Regions from separate parts of the Homo sapiens genome. Here all the other regions are linked to region 2. Evidence: promoter capture Hi-C in human tissues and cell types (Jung and others, 2019). All regions are on one chromosome and are shown on one strand. Each heading gives the region's core, a stretch centred on a gene start or on the middle of the fragment in contact. The rest is flanking DNA. Distances are from core to core; before and after follow the strand shown.

Evidence for each region. Contacts are between HindIII fragments. The study calls those that stand out against the background at their distance.
Region 1: a fragment that was not itself captured here is called in contact with the fragment with the promoter of BRINP1 in region 2 in 4 of the 25 tissues and cell types used here (H1 embryonic stem cells, adrenal gland, mesendoderm cells and 1 more).
Region 3: a fragment that was not itself captured here is called in contact with the fragment with the promoter of BRINP1 in region 2 in 1 of the 25 tissues and cell types used here (H1 embryonic stem cells).
Region 4: a fragment that was not itself captured here is called in contact with the fragment with the promoter of BRINP1 in region 2 in 1 of the 25 tissues and cell types used here (H1 embryonic stem cells).

The regions. Positions count from the first base shown.
Region 1 is chr9:118,597,489-118,600,863 of GRCh38, reverse strand. No RefSeq gene overlaps it. Among named protein-coding and RNA genes, the nearest start is that of LINC02578, 80 kb to the left of the region's middle. The HindIII fragment of the contact is 6,788 bases long and covers 1-3,375 here.
Region 2 is chr9:119,367,732-119,370,769 of GRCh38, reverse strand. It overlaps BRINP1 (BMP/retinoic acid inducible neural specific 1), which reads left to right and starts at 1,335. Exons shown (of 8, transcript NM_014618.3): 1 at 1,335-1,714. RefSeq lists enhancers at 371-891, 892-1,414, 1,415-1,936. The HindIII fragment of the contact is 11,628 bases long and covers 1-3,038 here.
Region 3 is chr9:118,819,219-118,822,308 of GRCh38, reverse strand. No RefSeq gene overlaps it. Among named protein-coding and RNA genes, the nearest start is that of LINC02578, 140 kb to the right of the region's middle. The HindIII fragment of the contact is 8,112 bases long and covers 1-3,090 here.
Region 4 is chr9:118,657,261-118,660,298 of GRCh38, reverse strand. All of the region lies in intron 3 of LOC102724929 (a long non-coding RNA gene), which reads left to right. Among named protein-coding and RNA genes, the nearest start is that of LINC02578, 21 kb to the left of the region's middle. The HindIII fragment of the contact is 7,495 bases long and covers 1-3,038 here.

The DNA.
Region 1 (3,375 bases), core at 232-2,731, 770 kb after region 2:
GAGAAGTCAAGGATTAATATAAGCTCAAGAGAAAACTCCTCCTACCTCTTATACCTTCCAGTCCATTTTTTTTTTTCCAGAGACAGAATTTCACTTTTTCATCCATCTGGAGTACAGTGGCACATCATCGCTCACTATAACCTCCAACTCCTGGGCTCAAGCCATTCTCCCACTTCAGCTTCCTAAGTCGCTGAAACTACAGGCTAAAGCCACCATACCTGAATACTTATTTTTTCTTTTTACTGATTTTTTTTTTGTAGAGATGGGGTCTCACTATATTGTCCAGGCTGGTCTCAAACTCCTGGCCTCAAGTGATCATTCTGCCTTGGTCTCCAGTCCCATTCTCATCTGTTATTATTTCTGAGTAGCCAATAGGTTGCCTGGATTATACATGTTTATTGGTTCTGGCTCTGTTAGCATTCTAAAGATTTCAGATTTTAGTTCTTGTTTCATTAGGAAATTTCCAAGGAGACCAAAAGAACATGGCCATTTTTAATACAGTTATCTCTTATTTACCATTTTTACTATAAAACTCCACCAAGTTCAGAATTATAGTTACGTAAACCACATGAGATTTTAGAGAGTTATGATGTAGTAATATAGTCATGCATCGCTTAACAATGAGGATAGTTTCTGAGAAATGCATTATTAGATGATTTTGTCATTGTGTAATCATCAAAGGTGTACTTACCCAAACCTACATGGTATAGACCACTACACACTTAGGCTATATGGTATAGTCTATTGCTGCCAGACGACAAACCTGTACAACAGGGTACTGTACTGAATACTGTAGGTAATTATAAATTATGGTAAGTATTTTTGTATTTAAACACACTTAAATATAGAAAAGATACATTAAAATACAGTATTATAATCTTGTGTGACCACCATTGTATATGTGTTCTGCTGTTGACTACAACATCATTATGTAACACATAACCGCAATTACAACAATAATAAAAATAATACTCAACCTTGACCTATCTATAGTGCTATATAGTTTGCAAAATGCCTTTAAATGTTATCTCATGCCATCCTTACAATCATACTGGGAAGTAGTTAAGACAAGTACTATCATCCCCAATTTACAGATGAGAAAATTGAGGCCCAGTAAAGTGAATTGATTGCCTAAAGTTATATATTTTGAGCAGTCTCATATCCACGATTTCTGCTTCTGCCTCCATATCCTTTGTGATAATCTGGTAAATTTCCAAGTATTTCTGTAGCCATTTTCTCAAATAACTCACAATGGACACTCAGTTTTTAGACTTTATGTCTGGAAGAACACAGGTAGTGTCTATGGTTACAATTTAACATGACATAATCAATGGTGAATAAGAACTTTCTCTATGCAAAACAAATTGTGTAATTTTACTGGAAGAAAAAGGAATGGTGAAAACATAGCTCTTGCCCAGAAGAACTTAACTATTTAGTAAAGGAGGTAGATATACTGATAGCAAATCACAAGTAAAAGCATGCTGAATTAAGAATCATAGCAAATACACATGCACACATCAGGATGAAGAGAGGGAAGAGAAATTACTTCTTATTAAGAGACTGGTGAAAGATTATAAAATAACAACACTGTTAGGCCTTGAAGAAAAATTATTGATAGAGAAAGAAGAGAGAGAACAGATTAAAAGAACCACCATCAGAAAATGTATGCATGCAAGTACCTAACATGCTTGCACATTGGCAAATATTGTAATTCCCATTTTATGTAACACATCAGCCAGCATAGGCACAGGAGCGTTTATCAGCTTCTCTAAAGTTTTAGATCCTGAAAGCACTAGATGTAACTTGCTTCTCAATCTGATGTTCTTCCCACAACTTTAACCAGGTCCTGAGAGGCCTAACGTGTCTTTTTATTCAGGGCTCAACCACTGAATTTCCAGATGCCTCTTCCACTCTTTCTCAAAGATTCACAGGGTGACAGTGGTTCACACATCTTTGCAGCCAGTATCCACTTCCCATTGTAAGCCATCTGTTCACATTAGTGAGGAAAAAGAATCTGTACCTTACCTCTGTTTGTTCCTACTTATCCCTATTACCAAGATCCCACAGAGCAAATGGCCTTGTTATGTGGTAGAAATAGGCAATAAAAATATGTTGCGTTTGGCATTCAGAGTACTTTAGAACCAAGAAACTCCAAGTAGCTTTTAAAATATTCATCATGTTTAACCATATTTAATCACCGAGTTAACCCATGGCTAAAGAACACTAGACGGGGAATAAAAAGAACTGGGTTCTGGCCACTATTCTGCAAGGTCACCCTTGCCAAGCTTTTCCTCTGTGAGCCTCAGGTGCTCATCACTTAAAAAAAAAAATCATGAACCAAAGCTCATGGGCTGTAAGATTCTGTGCTAATTGTCTAAATGAAGGAATCACAAGGGCATCAAATACAAAGATTTGGTTACACTTCAGATATCTTTGGCAGGCTTAGAATAAGCAACCAATCTTTTCAAAAGAAAAGTTGTTTTACTCGTTTGTCCCAGTGACTCTTGGGGGAAAATTGCTAAAGAATAGAGACAAAGAATTCTGTCTTTGAGGTATTCTGTCCTTATCAAAGTCAGTCCAAAAATTCATTTTTGTATCTGATCTATGTTTGGAGTCAGTTCTCTCTCTCTCTCCTACTTGCTCCTCTGCCTTTCTTCTTCCTCATCTATTATAAGGCAATTGTAGCATAGTGAGCAACTCTGAATATTAAAGACAGACAAGCACAGAGCCACAGGATTTCATATAGCATTTGTTACTTCCTTGCCATATGGGCTTGCCTGAATTACTTTGCTTCTTTCTGAGGCTTGGTTTTCTTATCAATTAAATGGGACTAATAATACTAATTTATAGAGTTGTTGTGTGGGTTAAGTAGGATGAAGTATTTAAAGAGCCAATATAATGCCTGGCAAAAAGAACCCAGTAAAAACTCCAATGAGAAAATCGGTTAGATATCCTTCCCTTTCTATTTTTAGAGGCAATCAGTAAAGTGACTGAAAGTGAAGTCAGACAGACCAGCCTTCAAATTATGCCTGCACAGCATCTACTTACCACCTCTAAACCTGAACTTCTTAAGCTAAAATGGAGATCACTCTTTCTAATGGGAATTTTTGGGAATGTAAAATAAGGTAACGACTCTGTAATACTTTGTGTCTGGCTATATACACAGTAAAGTTTAATTATTTTCATTGTCACTGATTATTCATTTATTACCTCATTTGCATTCTCCATTAACAGTAGTTCCAGCCTACAAAATATTTCCTGGGCACTTAATAGGTGCTAAGTTCTGTGCTGTGCACTGGGCACACAATGACATACATGTTCTATTAATTCACTTACCCAGTATAAGCTTATAGTCTAGAGGTAAAAAAATAGACA
Region 2 (3,038 bases), core at 86-2,585:
TAGTTCACTGGCTCCTAGATTGTTCTAGGCCTCCCTGGTGGTCACATCTCTCTCTTATCATCCTTTGAATTAAAAAACAAACAAAAAACATACAATGGCAATCATAAAAGCAGACAACATGCACTGAGCACTCACTAGGTGTCAGGGAGCAGTCTAAGTGCCTTTGCATACATTAACTCATGAGCAGTCTAAGTGCCTTTGCATATATTAACTCATTACAATTCCACATCAACCCTATTAGATGGGTAGATATATTATTATTCTATTAAACAGACAAGGAATTGAGGCTTAAGGGGTAAGTGATTTCACCAAGACCAGACAGCTACAGGACTCCAACCTCTCTGGAGCCTGCACTTCTACTGAATCTGGCTCTTTTACATATTCCAACACCTTTTCCTATGACTTCCTGCCCCTCCATCTGGTAGCCTTAATGCTTTCTATTCTTGCCTAATCTTCAGGGGACTAGGGATCTGCATTGCTGATTTGGTTTAAATCAGAAGGGAAGCAAAGTAAACAAACATACCAAATGTGCGCTGTGTGGGAATTATCATACGAGGGCTTTATTTTCTGCTTCAGGAAGAGGCCCTATGTTAGCAGCCCCAGCCTGCATTCAGGCTGATTGCAGAGTATTTTGCTTTTTATTTTCATGTCTTAGTCCCTGTACCCTCGCCCCTTCCCCGCCTCTGGTGGTCTCCAGAGAACTTCGTGTCCCCTCAGCTTCTCCCTCCTACATCCTGCCTACGTAGAGAAGCTCTTGCTTCATTCTGGGAGGTTACGTGGGCTCTCGCCTACACACCGAGAGAAACAAACAGTGTCAAACACTCACAGAGAGACGCGCAGACACAAACGGACCCACACGGGCAACTCCCGAGACAAAACCCACACTCGATGGATCCACGCGGCCGTGGAAACACCTGCCGCCCCAGAAACACTCAGGTACTCGCGACACACACAGTACAGTCACGCTTAAGGGCACCAGGATTCCGGGTTTGCGCGTATGCGCGGTCCCTTTGGATGCTCGTGCGCATAGACACAACACCCTACACGCCCCAGACCCACGAAACTCCCTACGGCTCAGCCCCAGCCCACCCGGGCCGCCCTTCCCTCGAGGCGGCCTCCCGTCTCTCCTCCTCTCGCTTCTCCTCCTCCTCCGCCTAAAGATGTACAAAACACTCCTCGGAAGCAACCCCGGCGTTCAGCTCCTCCCTCCCCGCCCCCCGGCCGCCGCTCCCCCATTCATTTTCGGCCGTCGCCGGCTAAGTCCCTCCCCCGGCGTAGCCCGGCCTCCGCCGCTCCCCGCCCGGAGACCGCGGCGCACTTGGACTTCCCTCTCCATTCGCCAGCCGCCTCGCTCCCGGACCCCACGGCTGCAAACTGATCTGGCGCGCGGGGAGGAGGAGAGCGCAGGCGAGCGAACCCGCGAGAGAGGGAGAGAGCGAGCGAGCAACAGCGAGAGCGAGAGCGAGAGAGCCGGGAGGCAGAGGGAGTAGTGACCGCCTTCCGGAGCCGGGATTCATGCCTGTCCTCGGGACCAGCGAAGGGGACTTTACGGCTGAGTATGAGCCAGGCTGCTAGGAGCCAGGTACCCCCACGCCTGCAGTCCCCGCGCCGTGCCCGGAATGCGAGCTGCACGCAGGGCTCTCCCAAGTTCCCACCGAGCCGAATAAAAAGCGTCCTCCCGCAGCTCTCCGCCAAAGACGGACATTGACTCCAGGTAAGGCGGCGCCGGGTGCAGCGCCCCGCAGCCCCGCTGCCCTTGGACCCGGCCCCGGGCCGCATTCGGGGCGTCCCCGCGCTCCTCTGCCCCTCCCCCTACCGGCACCCTTGTCCGCTCTTCACCTGGCCGCCCCGCCGCCTCCAAGTCTTCTCCAGTTCTAGGGAGGGGGTTCCTGTGCCTGGGGCTCAAAGGGCTAATTGCGGGTTTGAGTGAGTGGCGTGTGTGTCCCCGCGCGCTCCCGACGTGTGCACCATGGTGGGAACTTGATGTGGTGCTAGTGTGTTTGCGTGTGCGGCGTCGTTTGCGTTTGATGCGTGTGTTCGTGGTGTGTGTGTGTGTCCGTGTGTGTAAGGGAGGGGTGAAGAGAGAGAGGTCCTATAACCTACTTACGGCGCGATGTGTGTGTGCATGTTTGTACGTATGTGTTTGTATGTGTGCCCTCGTGTGTCTTTTTAATTAGGTCTCTCCAGCTTACACGGAATGGGACCCTTACTATAGGATCACGTAGTCACCGGGAAACCCGCTGTGGACTTCCTCTTGGGGCTCTGGGCTTGGGGTTTGGGGAGGATTATGGGGCTGTAGATGGCACCTTATTTAGCCCAATGTTGGTACGCTTGAAGGAAAATTCCTCCAAACGGTGGAATCCTGCTACACTGGGACCCACAGCTTAATATGAAAGAGACATGGCCAACCCCCGAGGCAAATGAGACGCTGTCACTTTAAATTCTACACTGGGCAGACTCCAAGATTCTGATGGGAATTTGGAGACACTGGATAGTGGGTGACAGAGAAAGGGGGAAGTCAGCGGTGGGCTCCTTATCTGGGGCTTGGAAAGTCTGGGATAGGGATTTACCCTGCATCCCCGTTTGCAATCAACAGAGCCCCTCCGGCTTCTGTTGGTTTTGGGGAGGATCTGGCAAGTTTGCATGGATCCCCCTCAGGGGAAAGGAGAAAGCGTCCTCGGGGACTTGCTCATCCATCACAGTTGCAAAGGGTCTCAGAGGAAATTTCATCTGGGGCGGCTGTGGATGATATGGAAGGAGATGGATGGGGCACTTTCCTAAGACAGATTCGTCTTTCTTTCCCCATTTCAGGCGGGGAAGCCCCCAGAGAGTCTCTCCCTAAATATGCCTCTCCATGGCTCCCCTGGAGTTAGGGGGATATTGAGAGAAGGCAGAGAGGTGGAGAGGGAGAGAGAGAGAGCAAGAGCGAGAGAGAGGGAGACAGAGAGAGAGAGTGTTTCAGTACTGAGGGAGATCTACAATTTGAAAAGGGGCTGTGAGTGTGGAACCCATGACAGAATGTGGCAGTAATTGACTTA
Region 3 (3,090 bases), core at 466-2,965, 550 kb after region 2:
TCAAGCTATGAAAAGGCACAGAGGAAACTTAAGTGTTTATTATCACGTGAAAGAAACCAATCTTAAAAAGGCTTAATACTATTTAACTATATGATATTCTGGAAAAACAAAACTATGGAGACAGTAAAAAGATTAGTGGTTGCCAAGGGATGAGGGAAGGGAGGGATGAATAGGCAGAGCATAGAGGGTTTGGGGCTGTGTAAACTATTCTTTAATATGCTTAATAGTGAATACATGTTATATACTTACACACTTGTCAAAACCCATGGAATGCACAACACCAATAGTGAATAAACTTTAATGTAAACTATGGACTTTGGTTGATAATAAAGTGAGATGTAAGTTCATCAATTGTAACAAATGTACCACTCTGGTACAGGATATTGATAGTGGGGTAGGCTGTACATGTATGGAAACAGGAGGTAAACGGGAACTATCTGTACTTTCTGCTTAATTTTCTGTGAACCAAACCTTCTCTAAAAATAAATTTTATTAATTAAAAAAAATAGCATTTTAAAATATATATTTATTGACAGACAAGTTCTGTTGTATTTGTGTATAAATATATTTAAAACTTTTTGAAAGCATAAAACACTTTTAAAAATAAAAATGGCATGCATTCATGTATTTAAATTTAAAAATGTTTTAAACATTTTTTCTATTTGATTAGCTGAGCATTAAATTGGAATAACCATAATAATTATTCTTGGCACATATTCGTGTACTTTAATCAGTTTCTTAAACATACGTATTTCTCTCACTGTGTCACTGCTATTGTTTTTCTCTGAAGAATACACTCTTCAATATGGTCTTATTGTTTTTCTCATAAATAAAGTTTGTAATCTTTTTCAAAGTTTCATGTTATAGTTAACATATTTAAAGTTTCTGACATCATCTATGGACCACATGCTCTGTTTTATAATTTCAGTTGAGAACATATTCTCTCTGTGGATGTGAAATAACTCTAAGCCAAGGGCAAATTCTTAAAAATGGAGTATATTCTTATATTTTTGATGTTAAAATGTATAAATATTTCAGTCCAAATATTTTCATAGCTATTGTCTTTTTCCTTCTATTCAGAGAATTTTACTGACAAGTATTTCAGAAGACAAAACTTGTCAGTTATTGCTTTATATATCTTTTTTTAATACTTTGCTAAATCTGGTTGCTGCAAAATTGAGGGCTTTCTTCAAGTCATTGCATTCCAGTACAGAATATATTTTAGATACTCTGAAAGTTAAAAATCTGATAAATTTTTGGCATTCATACCATTGAATATTGTGCAAAATATTTTAAACATGCAGCCAAAATTTAAAAGCCTCATTTGAAAAAAAAATAGTTTACTATCATTTTTAAAACATTCAGATTGATATACAAAATAATTTTTCCAGAGCTCAAATACTTCTAAATTTGATTTATGATGAGCATCAAAGTGCTAAGTGTGCACTGCTATTCTAATGAATATTTTTGTAACTTCTTGGAAATAATGAATTATGAGGGCATCAACAGCAATTTCTAGCATATTTCTTCACTGTAGGCCTCTTAATTTAGTAAAAATATAGTTTTCACCATGATGTGCTCTATGAAGTTTGTATTCATATTATCACTACAAAAACAGCTAATTTTATTTTCAATGCTGAACTTTCATCTGAATTTACAAAGCATTCCCTAAAATTTCAAATGTTTCACTCAACAAAATGAACTTATAAAAGCTGTATTTTGATTTTAATCACCATAATCAAAGTCATAATCATAATAATCATCATTATCAAACCATTATTAGAATTAGCTAATTTTACATTTATAGCATCTGGTAATACCAACACAAAACTCACTTTATACACCTAGCTGTGAAGCTTTTCCAGTAGTAATGGAACCAGTGTGTTAACAGCTATCACTTCACTTTATATTTGAAGGAAAAAAATCCTTCAAATAAAAAAAAATGAAAGAAAATGGAACAATCATTTGATCTCAATGAAAAGTCATGCTTTGCAAATGGATATAGAAACATTTTCTACTGCAGTCTCATGGATTAAACAATTGTTTGAGGATGAATCTTATGGAAACTAACTGCTAATTTGAAGTAAATCTGATTCTTCTTTAAAATGTGCATGTCTGCTTTTTATGGTCGATGATACCATTATGTTCTTTTATGACAGATGATAATGCTTACAAATATTTTTGAAGATGATACTCATCACCAAGTTTCTTTAGTAACTGAAATTCAGTAGTAATTTTTAATTAACCATTTGCTTTCTAAAAGCTCATTTCTTTAATAAAAACATTTATAAAAAAGAAATAAAACGGTTATAGGACATTAAAATCAATAGAATTTTTAAAAAAACTACTGTAGTGAGTGTGGTCAGATGCATTTGTACTCTGTCACAATTCCATGTACCTATGAACTACAGTCTCTCAGATTGCCCATTGATCCTGGCTACTAGGTCCTGAGAAATTTCCAGCATCTTGTAGGCCACTCTGTTGGGTACAGTGCAGATGGCTATTATATTAATAGTAAATGGCCCACAGGGCAACAGCGGTACCTTCCCCACCACAATCTAACATCTAAGTGCCTAAGTGCATTTCTTTTTTTTTTTTTTTTTTTTTTTTGAGACGGAGTCTCGCTCTGTCGCCCAGGCTGGAGTGCAGTGGCAGGATCTCGGCTCACTGCACTAAGTGCATTTCTTCAAGTCCTTAAAGAAGAGCACTGTAATATAACATCTGCAAATTATCTAAAAAAGAATGATAAATTATTGCTGGTCATTCTACATGTGTAGTCACTGGTTAAAGTAAAATTTCTGTTAATTGTGCATGTATCCAACATGCTGTTACTTGAGATAATGACAGAAATTACAAGTACAAAATAGAGGTTCCCATTCTTGCTTGTTTTAATGCAACAATTAGTGATAATATTTTGTTATAAATGAAAAAATAATCCAGAGCAACTTCTAAATTGGATGGGAAACCAAGGAGTCAAGCATAAAGCATGACCAGGCCCTATAAACCAGGAGATGTAGATTCCTCAACTATACACCAGTGAAAAATAGGGAGTATAAAATATAAGAGGTACTGCACGTCATAAAAAATAAT
Region 4 (3,038 bases), core at 512-3,011, 710 kb after region 2:
CATGCCACTGCACTCCAGCCTGGGCGACAGAGTGACTCCTTCTCAAAGATCAAATAAAATAATTAAAAATATATATATTATTCAGGCCTAGTCCTTAGAAATAATACTTGTCCATAGACTAGCACATAGAAATAATATCATTAATATTTATAATATATGAATAACTGCTAATGTTTATCAAGAGGTTAGCATATGTCAGATTCTATTCTAAGCACTTTTCACGCACTAATTCATTTAACAGTATAAGAAACCAATGCAGTAGGTATAATTATATCCATTATGCAGAACATTTAAGTACCTTAGATACTCAATTACGTGAACATTTCTTTTCTTATCCTTGCAAACTGCTATAATTTTACTCTAAAGTTTTGCTCACCTCTTGCCTTCTGTCTCTTCCAAACCATCATTTACAAGGCTTCCAGAATTATCTCATAAAAGCCAAGGTTACATCAGGCCATTCCCCTGATGGTCCCATTTTCTGCAAGAAAGAGTCCAAGCTCCTTAGTCTGTCCATTCAGCGCTTCTTAATCTGACCTCAGCCTGTCTTGCATGTGTGTTTCCACCCTCCTTCATTTGCCCTGTGCCCTAAATCACCTCTGGAGAGCTCAGATCTCTAAGCTAAGTTTAATGATGTTCTTCATCTCATAACATCCTTTCCTGAACTTGTGTGCTGAAACAAAGCAAATATTCCACTGAAGCCTGATTATACATAGGCCAACTGAACATCATGTCCTACCTGGAATGCTGAAATAGTCTTCGGCCTGATTTTTCTACTTCTACACTTGACCCTGCCCTCCCAGAAAGGTCCTCAACTGTAGCCTAAGAGAACATTTTTTGAAAAGTAAGTCAAACACAATTTACCTATGTAACAAGCCTACACATGTTCCTCTAGACCCTAAAATAAGAGTAGAGGAACAAAAAAATTCAAATCATGTCACTGCCCAGCTCAGATCTATGACTGGCTTCTCATATAATCGGAATAATATCCATACTCCTTACTTTGCCCTCTAAGACCCTACGTGGTTTGCCTCATGCCTTCCCTTTCGCCTCCTCTTCTCTGTGCTTCTTGTTCATTCTTGTCAACTATGTGGTTATTCCTGTTATTTTGAGACCACGAGCTCACTCATTGCTCATCCATTGTTGCTTCAACAGTCTTCTACTTATTCTCCAACCTGGACTTTTGGTTAGATCTCTCCTTGACGTTATTCACATCCATGCTCAAATATTATGCTTTCAAGATAGGACTTCTCTGGTCTCCGTATTTTGAATGTTCCCTGTTCTTCCATATATTCACTAATTCCATACTGGTTTATCTTTCTTCATAACATTTCTGCCACTTGAAATCATAGTGTATACTAATTTGTATATTTCTTTCTAGACTGCCTTCACACTCATAAGTTCTAAGCTTTATTAGATTTAAGGATTTGGCCTATTTTATTCTTTGTGTTTTCTTAGCAAATGATACTGGGTGCATCCTAAGTGCACCAGCATGGCACATGTATACATATGTAACTAACCTGCACAATGTGCACATGTACCCTAAAACTTAAAGTATAATAAAAACAAACAAACAAACAAACAAACAACAAAAAAAAAGAATTGTTGAATGAATGCTGGTCCATGGAATTTTTCCCTTTACTCTAAGACAAATTATGTGTTCTTTATCACTTTGCTTCTCCTCAATGGATAGTGTTGGCTAATTCATACCCCTCAGTTCATGACAAATGTTTATGATCCATCCTTACAAAGATATGTTTCTATATTATTTATTTTATTCCCATGTGCCCCCATTTCCCTCTCCACATCACAGGGTTTAATGAGTACCCTTTTGTATTAGTCTGTTCTCACACTGCTAATAAAGACATACCTGAGACTGGGTAATTTTTAAAGGAAAGAGGTTTAATTGACTCACAGTTCCACATGGCTGGGGAGGCCTCACAATCATGGTGGAAGGGGAATGAGGAGTAAAGTCACATCTTACATGGTGGCAGGCAAGAGAGCTTGTGTGGGGTAACTCCCCTTTATAAAACCATCAGCTCTTGTGAGACTTATTCACTATCACAAGAACAACATGGGAAAGACCCATCCCCATGATTCAATTACCTCCCACTGGGTCCTTCCCATGACACATGGGAATTATGGGAGCTAAAATTCAAGATAAATTTTGGGTGGGGACACAGCTAAACCATATCAGCTTTTGTTTATATGAATTTTTGTATGTATGTTATTATTTTGTAGTTAACATATTTTTAATATGTATAAATGAAAACAGTATGATTCTCATTCTATTTGTCCTGTTTTCTGGACCCATCCATGTTACTATGTGCACATCTAGTATGTAGTGTCTCCTGACCTTCTGGTTCTCCATTGGACAGCTGACATATCTTAACCTGCCTCATTCTCCAAGGAGGTGCTCCCACACTCCTTGCAACAAATCCTACAATGAACACCTTTTACTCATCCCTTTGTGTAGGTCCATGAAAATTCTTTCTTTCTTTTTTTTTTTTTTTTTTTTTTTTTGAGACAGAGTCTCACTCTGTCACCCAGGCTGGAGTGCAGTGGCACAATCTCAGCTCACTGCAACCTCTACCTCTTGGGTTCAAGCAATTCTCCAGCCTCATCCTCCCAAGTAGCTGGGAATACAGGCACATGCCACTGTGTCCAGCTAATTTTTGTATTTTTAGTAGAGACCGGGTTTCACCATGTTGGCCAGGCTGGTCTCGAATTCCTGACCTCAGGGAAGATTTGTGGAATGGGACTATTTCTACACTTAATCTGACTAGGCATAGTTGCAATGCTCTCCAGAATGCCTATACATCTATTCTACAACCAGTGGTGCATGGTGGCTTCCTATCCTCATATCTCTGACAACATTTTCCATGATTGAGCTTTCTAATTACTTTTTCAATGCACTTTCCACATTATGGCACATTATGGTGCACAGTACTTCATGTTATCTGGTCACCATCTCTGTCATTGCTGTATGCTGTGCCTCCTAAGGGTGGGGTTACACTGTTATTTTTGTATTCCAAATACAA